Linked DNA regions of Homo sapiens: region 1 is linked to region 2. The links are contacts of gene promoters, found by promoter capture Hi-C in blood cells and fetal thymus (Javierre and others, 2016). All regions are on one chromosome and are shown on one strand. Each heading gives the region's core, a stretch centred on a gene start or on the middle of the fragment in contact. The rest is flanking DNA. Distances are from core to core; before and after follow the strand shown.

Region 1 (5,798 bases), core at 3,286-5,785, 61 kb after region 2:
TCAGGGTGTCCTGGGTTGGAGGGGAGGGGACTCACGGCTCCCAAGCAGGTTCTTAGAACGTTTGTCAATGTAAAGGCAGATGTTGGACTGTACCAGGGTCTGCTCAGAGACCACCTGCTCCCGACACTCAAACGCAGACCTGGGGATCTCGGCAGGTATGAACTGCATGCTCACCCCCACCCAGAGCACAGGTCTGGTCCTGCGGGCAGAGCACCGAGCTGAGGACAGGCCGTCGGCTCCTGGGAGCACCACGTGGGGTGGGCACCCCCATCTGAACCTAGGACCACCTGGGGAGCCTCTGAGAAAGGCTGCTCTCACCTGAGCAGGAGCACCTGGCCCCGGGCCCCCACAGCCAGGTCCACCAGTCCATCCTGGGTGAGGTCTTGACCCCCGCTCAGTGCCTGCCCAAAATACTGCAGCCTGGAGGAGAGCTGGGAGCCCGCGATCCGCTGGCCAGAGGAGAGAAGGGTGAATCAAGATGGAAAGTAGGGGAAGAAGTTGGAAATAAGTAACAAGGGGAATATGGAGGTAGGACCATCGGAAAGGGAGAGAAGGGGTGAGTTGTGAACAGATGTCACCAAGAAGAACCTGAAAAGAGGAGGTAGGAGTTGGGAGATGATTGCTAAGAAACAGATGTAAGAGTGGAGATAGGAAGGGTGTCCTGGTGACCCGAGTGTCATTCATTCGATCAGTCTCTAGTTCCAATTCTGACTCCTCCACGTATGAGCCACGAGGCCGTGGGCAAGGACTCAATCTGTCTGTGCCTCCGTTTCCTCATCTTTCATATAATGATACTATTAGCTCAGAGTTTAGCCATGCTCAGGAGAGGAATTCCTACGGTTCTTAGAACAGCACCCAGGATACAGCCAGCAGTCAATAATATATCACAATGAGTATTAAGGCTGAAAGGGACCTCAGAGTTTGTCCAACCTCACCTCCCTCGTTGCAAAGATGCAGGAGAGAGGTTGGGGACAGTGTCAACCCCAGGTAGCCTTTAAGAGGCTGACTGCAGACCTAACACCAGACCGTCCAACCCCAGGCCCAAGTCCCCTTTTTGTTTCTTGCTGTCACTCTGTCTCTTCAAAGGACAAGAAAAAGCCGCGGTGGGGTAGGGAGTGGTCGCACCCACACCCAGATCCACCCTCCCAGGCACTGCCTCCCCTGTAGAACCTATCACCTTCATTCCCAGTGCTCATGTTATGCCCAATCCCTGGAAGAATGTGCCCTTTAAATCTCTGTGCACCCTGGAACTAGCAGCCATTAAAAGTGATAATAATGGCTGGACGCGGTGGCTCACACCTGTAATCCCAACACTTTGGGAGGCCGAGGCGGGTGGGTCATCTGAGGTCAGGAGTTCCAGACCAGCCTGGCCAACATGGTGAAACCCCGTTTCTACTAAATAAACAAAAATTAGCTGGGCATGATGGCACATACCTGCAATCCAAGCTGCTCAGGAGGCTGAGGCAGGAGAATCACTTGAACCCGGGAGGCAGAGGTTGCAGTGAGCGGAGATTGCACCACTGTGCTCCAGTCTGGGTGACAGAGCGAGACTCTGTCTCAAAAAAAAAGGTAATAATAATGGGCAGGGCACACTGGCTTTGTGCCTGTGGTCCCAGCTACTCAGGAGTCTTTGGCAGGAGGATCTCTTCAGTCCAGGAGTTCGAGGCTGCAGTCAGCTATGATTGCGCCACTGAACTCCAGCCTGAGTGACATGATGAGATTCTGTCTCTAAAAAATAAAAATTAAAAAAAAGAAAAGAAAAAAAGGAATAATAACAAAATAAAAAGAGAAATTTACCAATTACTGAGGGAGTCTAGAAAGGCTAGGTGTACCCCCTCTAAATCTAAAAGTTCAAAAATAAAAATAAAATATTTGATTGGTAAAAAATGCTAACAATCGTTTAAGCCTTTAGCAAGGCATAATCTTTTTGCTGGTGGAGGGTCTTGCCTGATGGTGACACGGCTGACTGATCACAGTGGCAACTGCTGGAGGTTGGGGTGGCTATGGCAATTTCCTAAAATAAGACCGTGAGGAAGTTTGCTGCCTGGATGGACTCTTCCTTTCATGAAATTTCTCTGGAGCATGCGATGCTGGTTGATAACATTTGGCCACAGTAGAGCTTCTTTGAAAGTTGGAGTCGTCCGGGAGGTGAGGGGCGCCTCTGCCCGGCCGCCCCTACTGGGAAGTGAGGAGACCCTCTGCCCGGCCAGCTGCCCCGTCCGGGAGGGAGGTGGGGGGGGGGGTCAGCCCCCCGCCCGGCCAGCTGCCTCGTCCAGGAGGGAGGTGGGGGGGTCAGCCCCCCGCCCGGCCAGCCGCCCCGTCCGGGAGGTGAGGGGCACCTCTGCCCGGCCGCCCCTACTGGGAAGTGAGGAGCCCCTCTGCCCGGCCACCACCCCGTCTGGGAGGTGTACCCAACAGCTCATTGAGAACGGGCCATGATGACAATGGCGGTTTTGTGGAATCGAAAGGGGGGAAAGGTGGGGAAAAGATTGAGAAATCGGATGGTTGCCGTGTCTGTGTAGAAAGAAGTAGACATGGGAGATTTTTCATTTTGTTCTGTACTAAGAAAAATTCTTCTGCCTTGGGATCCTCTTGATCTGTGACCTTACCCCCAACCCTGTGCTCTCTGAAACATGTGCTGTGTCCACTCAGGGTTAAATGGATTAAGGGCGGTGCAAGATGTGCTTTGTTAAACAGATGCTTGAAGGCAGCATGCTCGTTAAGAGTCATCACCACTCCCTAATCTCAAGTACCCAGGGACACAAACACTGCGGAAGGCCGCAGGGTCCTCTGCCTGGGAAAACCAGAGACCTTTGTTCACTTGTTTATCTGCTGACCTTCCCTCCACTATTGTCCTATGACCCTGCGAAATCCCCCTCTGCGAGAAACACCCAAGAATGATCAATAAAAAAAATAAAAAATAAAAAAATAAATAAAAAATAAAAAATAAAAAAAGAAAGTTGGAGTCAATTCTCTCAAATTCTATGCTGATTTATCAACTACGTTTATATAATATTCTTTTTTTTTTTTTTTTTGAGACACACTTTCACTCTGTCGCCCAGGCTAGAGTGCAGTGGTGTGATCTCGGCTCACTGCAACCTTTGCCTGAGGGGTTCAAGCGATTCTCCTGCCTCAGCCTCCTGAGTAGCTGGGATTACAGACATCTGCCACCACACCCAGCTAATTTTTTTAGTAGAGATGTTTAGTAGAGAGGTTTCCCTATGTAGGCCAGGCTGGTCTTGAACTCCTGACCTCAGGTGGTCTGCCCACCTCAGCCTCCCTAAGTGCTGGGATTATGTAATATTCTTAATCTTGTGTTGTCATTTCAACAATATTTATATCATCTTCACCAGGAATAGATTCCATCTGAAAAAAAAAAAAAACACTTTCTTTCCTCATCTGTAAGAAGCAGGTCCTCATCTGTGCAAGTTTCATCATGAGACTGCAGCAATTCAGGCTCCACTTCTAATTCTGGTTCTCTATTTCCACACATCCGCAATCACTTCCTCCCCTGAAGCCTTGAGCCACTCAAAGTCATCCATGAGAATCAGAATCAGCTTCTCCCGAACTCGTGTTAATGTTGATATTTTGACCCCCTCTGATGAATCATGAATGTTCTTAATGGCATCTAAAATGGTGAATTTTTTTCCAGAAGGTTTTCAATTGACTTTGCCCAGATCCATCAGAAGAATCACTATCTATGGCAGCTATAGCCTTATGAAATGTATTTCTGAAATAATGAGACTTGAAAGTCGAAATTACTCCTTGGTCCATGGACTGCAGAATGGGTGTTGTGTTTGCAGGCATGGAAACAACACTAATCTCCTTGAACATCTCCATCAGAGCTCTTGGGTGATCAGGTGCACTGTCAATAAGCAGCAAACTTTGGAAAGAAATCTATTTTTCTGAGCAGCAGGTCTCCAGAATGGGCTTAAAACACTCAGTCAAGCATGCTATAAACAGATGTGCTGTCACCCCAGCTTTGTTCCATTTCTAGAGCACAAGAAGGGTGGATTTAGCATCATTCTTCAGGGCCCTGGAATTTTCCAAATGGTAAATGACCACTGGCTACAACTTGAAGTCCTACCAGCTGCATTAGCCTCTAACAAGAGAGTCAACTTGTCCTTTGAAGCTTTGAAGCCAGGCATTGACTTCTCTGAAAGTCCTAGATGCCATCTTCTTCCATCGAAGGCCATCTCATCTACACTGAAAACCTGTTGTTGAGTGTAGCCACCTTCATCAGAGATCTTCTGGAGAACTTGCTGCGCCTTCTCCATCTGTACTTGCTGCTTCACCTTGTACTTTTATGTTGTGGAGATTGCTTCTTTCCTTAAACCTCATGAACCCTGCTGACTTCCACCTCTGCTGACTTCCAATTTTTCTTCTGAAGCTTCCTCACGTCTCTCAGCCTTCATAGAACTGAAGAGCATTCGGACCTTGCTCTGGATTTGGCTTTGGCTTAAGGGGATGTTGTGGCTGGTTTGATCTTCTATCCAGATCACTCAGACTTCCTTCATATCAGCAATTAGGCTGTTTCACTTTCTTATCATTCATATGTTCACTGGAGTAACACTCTTAATTTCCTTCAATAACTTTTTCTTTGCATTCAGAATTTGGCTGTTTGGTGCAAAAGGCCTTCAGCCCATCTTGGCTTTTGGCATGGCTTCTTCACCAAGCTTAATCATTTCTAGGTTTTGATCTAAAGTGAGAGATATGTGGCCAGACGTGGTGGCCCACGTCTGTAATCCCAGTGCTTTGGGAGGCCAAGGCAGGCAGATCACTTAGAGTCAGGAATTCCAGACTAGCCTGGCCAACATGGTGAAACCCCATCTCTACTAAAAACACAAAAATTAGCCAGGCATGGTGGCACCCACCTGTAATGCCAGCTACTCAGAAGGCTGAGGCAGGAGAATCACTTGAACCCCAGAGGGGGAAGTTTCAGTGAGCCAAGATCACACCAGTGTACTCCAGGCTGGGTGACAGAGTGAGATCCTGCCTCAATAAATAAATAAATAGTGAGAGACATGTGACTCTTCCTTTCAGTTGAACACTTAAAGACCATTGTAGAGTTATTATTTGGCTTAATTTCAATATCATTGCATTGCAGGGAATAGGGAGGCCACAGGAGAGGGAGAGAGAGACAGGGGAGCTATCAGTGGTGGAGCAGTCAGAACACACACATTTATGAAGTTCGCCTTCATATACGGACGTGCTTCATGGTGCCCCAAAAAGAGGACAATAGCAACATCGAAGATCACTGATCACAGATCACCATCACAGACATGATAATTACAAAAAAGTTTGAAACATTGTGAGAATTACCAAAGTAACACGGAGACACAAAGTGAGTGCATGCAGCTGGGAAAACAGCACTGATAGACTTGCTCAGTGCAGGGTCGCTGCATACCTTCAGCGTGTAAAAAATGCAGTATCTGCAAAGCGCATAAAACAAGGTATGCCTGCATGTGATGGGTTGTGGGAATTGGTACGAACTGTTTGCAGTTTCATGACAACACGTGGGCCCTTGTTATTCTCAACAGTCTTTCACCCTCTTCTTTAGATTCCCCTTCAGGTGTTAAACTATGTGTTTTTTGTTTGTTTGTTTGTTTAGAGATGGAGTCTCACTCTATCACCCAGGCTGGAGTGCAGTGGCGCAATCTCAGCTCACTGCAACCTCCGATTCCTGGGTTCAAGCCATTTTCCTGCCTCAGCCTCCCAAGTAGCTGGGATTATAGGCATGCGCCATTACGCACAACTAATTTTTGTATTTTGGGTAGAGACGGGGTTTCCCCATGTTG
Region 2 (5,797 bases), core at 2,441-4,940:
AGAGACAGGCCTGAAAATTGGAACTCATGGACTTGTGCCCCTCCCTACAACAATCATCCCAGCCTGGGCAACACAGTGAGACCCATCTCTACAAAAAATTAAAAAATTAGCTGAGCACAGTGGTTTGTGCCTATAATCCCAGCTACTTGGTAGGCTGACATAGGAGGAATGCTTGAGCCCAGGAGTTCGAGGCTGCAGTGAGCTATGAACACACCACTGCACTCCAGCCTGGGTGACAGAGCCAGACTCTGTCTCAAAACAAAATACAAAAAACAATCACTACGGCCAGGTGGGGTGGCTCACGCCTGTAATCCCAGCACTTTGGGAGGCCGAGGCAGGCAGATCACTTAAGGCCAGAAGTTCGAGACCAGCCTGGCCAACATGGTGAAACCCCATCTCTACTAAAAATACAAAAAAGTAGCCAAGCATGGTGGTGTGCACCTGTAATCCCAGCTACTCAGGAGGCTGAGGCTGAATAATCACTTGAACATGGGAGACAGGGGTTGCAGTGTGCCAAGACTGCACCACTGCACTCCAGCTTGGGGGACAGAGTGAGACTCTGTCTCAAAAAAAAAAAATCACTATGACCTGGAGAATAGAATGCTCTGATTGGGTAGGCCTGGATCATGTGGCCCTTCTTGGAGCTAGAGGAGGGAGTCAACCCCACTTGAACTTGAACTGAGAATAAGGGGGGCAGGGGTGTGTGTGTCAGTATCAGAAAAGAAGGCATAGATATATTGGTCATATGACACAAAACAGTAGACATCCACTATCACATAGCCACTGGCCCCTCCCAAGTGCAGAGGGAGCTCAGAGCCCCATTTATTTAGAGTCTATGTCCCTGTTGCCACTGGACCCCACCCCAATGCTGTCTGAGCTCCATCTCTCTGTACCTGTTCGTTCTAGCTAACCCATGTCCTGTATCACAGTTGTTTTTCCAGGACTATTCTAATTTCAAATACGCTGTCCCTAGGGCCCCCATAAACATTTATACTTAGTAGATCACATGTAATCGATCTTTGCTTTAGAAAATGTGGTCATGGTATGCAGCATCCCAGGAAGAGGGCACAAGAGAAACTGACCCTGAGTCATGCCTCCACCTCCTTCACCACCAACAGCTGAGATACTCTGAACAGAGGCTGAGATGCTGCCCTCCGGGGTTTATTTAGCACCTGGTGAGTTTGTTCTTCCCTCTGCCTAAAGTGGAGGAAAAATTAAACCTCTAGAAACTGAAAGTGTTGGCAGCAGCCAGGTTAAGAACTGTGTGAGTGAGAACTTACAGAAACAATGGTGAGTGCACAGCCTGGAAGAGACAGCTCTGCACACCCTCTAGAGAGGCAGGTAAGATGGTGACAAGCCCAGAAAAGCACAGACCACCTGAGCGGAGGTCTCTGGGTACCTGGGCAAGTGCACCTCGTGATGGTGACAGCAGCCCAGGACAGAAGTGGCCCTCCTCAGGGCGTTCTTGACATCCCAGCAAGAAAACCTCTCCACAGGAGCTCCCAAGCTGAGAACAAAGGGATGGGAATTCCCAGGGAATTGTTTGGCAGCAACCAGAAAAACTCTGAGGGGCCTTTTAGGGGAGAAAAGAAACCTAGAACCTTTTCTTCCTTTTTTCCTTCTTTTTTTTTTTCTTGAGAGAGTCTTACTCTGTCACCCAGGCTGAAGTGCAGTGGCACAATCTTGGCTCACTACAACCTCCACCTCCTGGGATCAAGCGATTCTCCTGCCTCAGCCTCCCGAGTAGCTGGGATTACAGGCACGGGCCACCACACCCAGCTAATTTTTGCATTTTTAGTAGAGATGGGGTTTCACCATGTTGGCCAGGCAGGACTCAAACTCTTGACCTCAAGTGATCCGCCCTCCTCATTCTCCCAAAAGTGCTGGGATTACAAGCGTGGGCCACTATGCCAGGCCTCTAGAACTTTGTCAAGTAAAAATACCTGTCTTCATGTCTGTTTTCTCCAGGAGCCATTATCTTATATACGTAGGGAGGGGGCTATGTGTAGAGGGAGATGCCAGGTATCTTTAACTGGAATAGGGCCCCATCTTCTCTGCAACAATGCCAAAGTCCAGCTGGGAAAAAAACTGTAGGAAGAATTCTATTATAGCTCAGTGAGAGCTCAGGAATAATTTTTGTAACACTGTATAACATTTGACTGCTCAAGGAGGTTATTTTTTTTAAAAATAGCAGCAGCTTAAAGTTGGATGGAACATACTGTTCAGTTTATTACCAATGAGAAACAGGTATAGAGCCCCTTCTTGAAAATATATCTTCCTCGTTTTTTTTATATATTAAATTCAGATTATATGTCTATATAATTCATTCTTCTTTTGTATATTAAGTTCATATTAGTACATCAGCCCTTGATCAAAGCTAGAAGCTTCCTATTGGATTGTAATTCTGAAAAGGCATTGTTGTAGGGTTAACCAAAGTAACAAGGTTCAAGCATTCATTACATACATATTTTTAGAACACCTCCTTCATGCCAAGGTCCCTGCCCGTTGCTGAGGACAGAACAGGCAGATGTCATCCCTGCCTGGTCTTGTGGCTTTCTTGTGACCTGCTTTGATAGAGGGTTCACACCAGCCCTGTCTAGGCTTGCTTTCTCCAAGTAGTCATATTTTTCAGATTGAAATAATGCACTTTGCAGTAGACACCTGTCAGGCTTGTGGCTGCCTGGAACCTTTTGAATACTCATCCTAGACCTGGAGATTTTCCCTACAATTCCTGCCTCCCTAAGGCAGAATCCAGAGCTCAGTTTCCCATCCCCTCCTGCAGCTGGGGGACCTAGGGGTTGCCAGTTGGTGCAATCACATAATTCTTTCAGAAAAGAGCGACCCAGGATACAGGTTTCATGAAGAATCTGTTTTCAAGAGGGGATGAGGGTGGAAAATTCTGGTTTTCCAGGGCAGCCTTAATGAAGCTTTTGGCATCCAGGGTCCAGCAGTGTGAGCTGTGGGGGTGTCACTGCAGCTGGCCAACGGAATGACTTGTTTATGACTGTGCAGACTGTAGGCATCTCTGGCTATATCAGACATAGTAAGCTACCTAAGATTCTCAATTACTTATCTTCTAAAACTAGTAAGAGTGAGTTCTGTTCTTTGCAAAGAACTGTGACTAATACATATACTGAACTACTGTTACCTGCCAAAATCCAGGTTGACACATTCCTACCTTACATAAACTTCATAAAAATGATGTAAGGGCCGTGTAGTGGCTCATGCCTGTAATCCCAGCACTGTGGGAGGCTGAGGCGGGAGGATCACGTGAGCTCAAGAGTTCCACACCAGCCTGGACAATATAGTGAGATCCCCGTCTCCAGTATTTAAAAAATCTTTTAAGGTACGAATTATTATACATTTTACAGCTGAAAACACTGAGACTCAAAAAGACACTTAATTCATTCTACAAATATTTATTAAAGCCCAACTGTGTGCCAGCCACCAGGCATAGAATAGGGAACAAAATAGTTTCCCTGCAACTATATAAAAAGAATGGCATATTGTACTTAAATGCCTCCTTGCCAAAATAAGAGGCACAGGACAACAGCTGTCTGGAGATGACCTCAAGCCAGTCAGGCCCCATTTTAAATATAGAAACCCCTAAGAATAGCCGCCAGTGCTCCAGACTCAACAGGTGATTGGCCCAGAGAGGGGAGGTGACCCCAGGCCCCAGGAAAGGGAGCGAGGACAGCGCTGGTTCCCGGCTCCCCGCACCATCATGGCTTTGCCTCTGAGGCCCCTGACCCGGGGCTTGGCCAGCGCTGCCAAAGGAGGCCACGGAGGAGCAGGAGGTGAGTGGGGAACGGGCGGATCCGGGGGCTCCCCTACCCTGCCCACCTGTTCACAGGCCCGCCGCCCCAGGACCGCCGCGCTCACCCCGCTCCGTCCGCAGCTCGTACCTGGCGTCTGCTGACCTTCGTGCTGGCGCTGCCCAGCGTGGCCCTCTGCACCTTCAACTCCTATCTCCACTCGGGCCACCGCCCGCGCCCCGAGTTCCGTCCCTACCAACACCTCCGCATCCGCACCAAGGTACGCGGGACGGGCGCGCGGGCGGCACGGGGGTGCTGCGGGGGCGGGGGGGGGTGCTGCGGGGGCGGGGGGGGGTGCTGCGGGGGGGGGGTCGCGCGGGGCGCGGACTCCGGACTCACGGCGCTCACGCGCGCTCCCTCCCCCGCTCTCTCCACAGCCCTACCCCTGGGGGGACGGCAACCACACTCTGTTCCACAATAGCCACGTGAACCCTCTGCCCACGGGCTACGAACACCCCTGAGGCCCCGGACGCCCCCGGACACAATAAAGGTGTGAAGCTTCGAGTCTGCGGCTCTGTGGGGAGGGCGGGGCCACGGGGAGCGCGCCCAGAGGCGCCCGCTCCGCGCATGCGCCCAGCTTGGTAAGCGCTCCTGCTCCGCGCATGCGCCTAGCGCGGTGGGCGCTCCACGTGCTTTTCCCACGCCGCTGATACGGAGGTGCTCGAGGGAGCCTCCTCCACTCACAGGTAGGCGATCCCAGCTCCCTGTCTCTCACCTGGTAATAATGAGGCCTCCCTCTCACACACACCTATTAATAATTAGGGCTCTAGGCTGTAATGGGCTTCCGCGTACACCGAATCCTCACAGTAACGCTGGGAGCAGGGTATAAATTTAGTTCACCTTCTCCCGAGGAAGACCTGAGATTCTTGGGAATTAAATGACTTGTCCAAGTTCCGGCAGCTCGGCAGAGCCCCCATGGGAGCCCAGGGCTGCAGATCCTGAAGTCCCACTTCTTGCCTGACACCTGAGCTGCTGGTGTCTGTGAATCCCAGCTCTCTGGATTTCAGACGGAGGCTCCACAGTCCTGTGTGTGAGGCCTTGGGACCTAATGCTGGATTTGGAATCTTTTGATAATTCTCTATAATCTTTCTTTCTTTTTTTTTTTTTTTTTTTGAGACGGAGTCTCGCTCTGTCGCCCAGGCCGGACTGCGGACTGCAGTGGTGCAATCTCGGCTCACTGCAAGCTCCGCTTCCCGGGTTCACGCCATTCTCCTGCCTCAGCCTCCTGAGTAGCTGGGACTACAGGCGCCCGCCACCGCGCCCGGCTAATTTTTTGTATTTTTAGTAGAGACGGGGTTTCACCTTGTTAGCCAGGATGGTCTCGATCTCCTGACCTCATGATCCACCCGCCTCGGCCTCCCAAAGTGCTGGGATTACAGGCGTGAGCCACCGCGCCCGGCCTATAATCTTTCTTAATGAGTCTTCTATATGGGAAATCACATGCTCCTAGCCTGGCTCTCCTGGCTTCTGAGTACCTCATTCAAGGGGGACAGGAGTTCAAATGAGCTCTGGACATTTCTTCACCTCCTAGGACAGCCTGCCCACTTACCATTACAGAGGAACCTGAAGTGTGTGAAGAAACCCATGACCAATGCATGCCTGCGTGCACGTGCATGCACATGCACACACACACACACACACACACACACACACACTCTTTGACCCTCTCCCCTGATACACACCTCTCAGCCCCATCAAGAAAAGATGACCTCAGGCTCCCATCACCATAGAAAGTGAAAAAACTTTTTCAATGCCCACAAATAGGTTCCCCCGACTATTCCCAGAGAGGCACTCAGGTCCCTGGGTTATAGCTCTTCCACGCAAGGAAAGTGTGCTATAAACATCCTCATTTCATGTGACAATTCTTAAGCATATGAAAATTTATGCTGGCACCATGCCTGCTTCTGTAAAAAGTGGGTCATTGCTGAAAAAGATGGACAGATATGTAAAAACATTACAATCTCTATCTCTCCGAGAAGGTG

The links. The method cuts DNA at HindIII sites, captures the fragments that hold promoters and counts their contacts. A CHiCAGO score of 5 or more calls a contact.
Region 1: a contact is called between a fragment that was not itself captured here and the fragment with the promoter of COX6A2 in region 2, in 1 of 17 cell types (erythroblasts). The highest score is 5.0, in erythroblasts.

The regions. Positions count from the first base shown.
Region 1 is chr16:31,365,735-31,371,532 of GRCh38, reverse strand. ITGAX (integrin subunit alpha X) reads right to left here. Exons shown (of 30, transcript NM_000887.5): 15 at 319-449; 16 at 36-199. Among named protein-coding and RNA genes, the nearest start is that of ITGAX, 13 kb to the right of the region's middle. RefSeq lists an enhancer at 2,368-2,974. The HindIII fragment of the contact is 286 bases long and covers 4,393-4,678 here.
Region 2 is chr16:31,426,253-31,432,049 of GRCh38, reverse strand. It overlaps COX6A2 (cytochrome c oxidase subunit 6A2), which reads left to right and starts at 3,690. Exons shown (of 3, transcript NM_005205.4): 1 at 3,690-3,797; 2 at 3,899-4,035; 3 at 4,193-4,319. The coding sequence starts at 3,725. The coding sequence ends at 4,276. ITGAD (integrin subunit alpha D) reads right to left here. Exons shown (of 30, transcript NM_005353.3): 30 at 5,545-5,797. The HindIII fragment of the contact is 1,386 bases long and covers 2,930-4,315 here.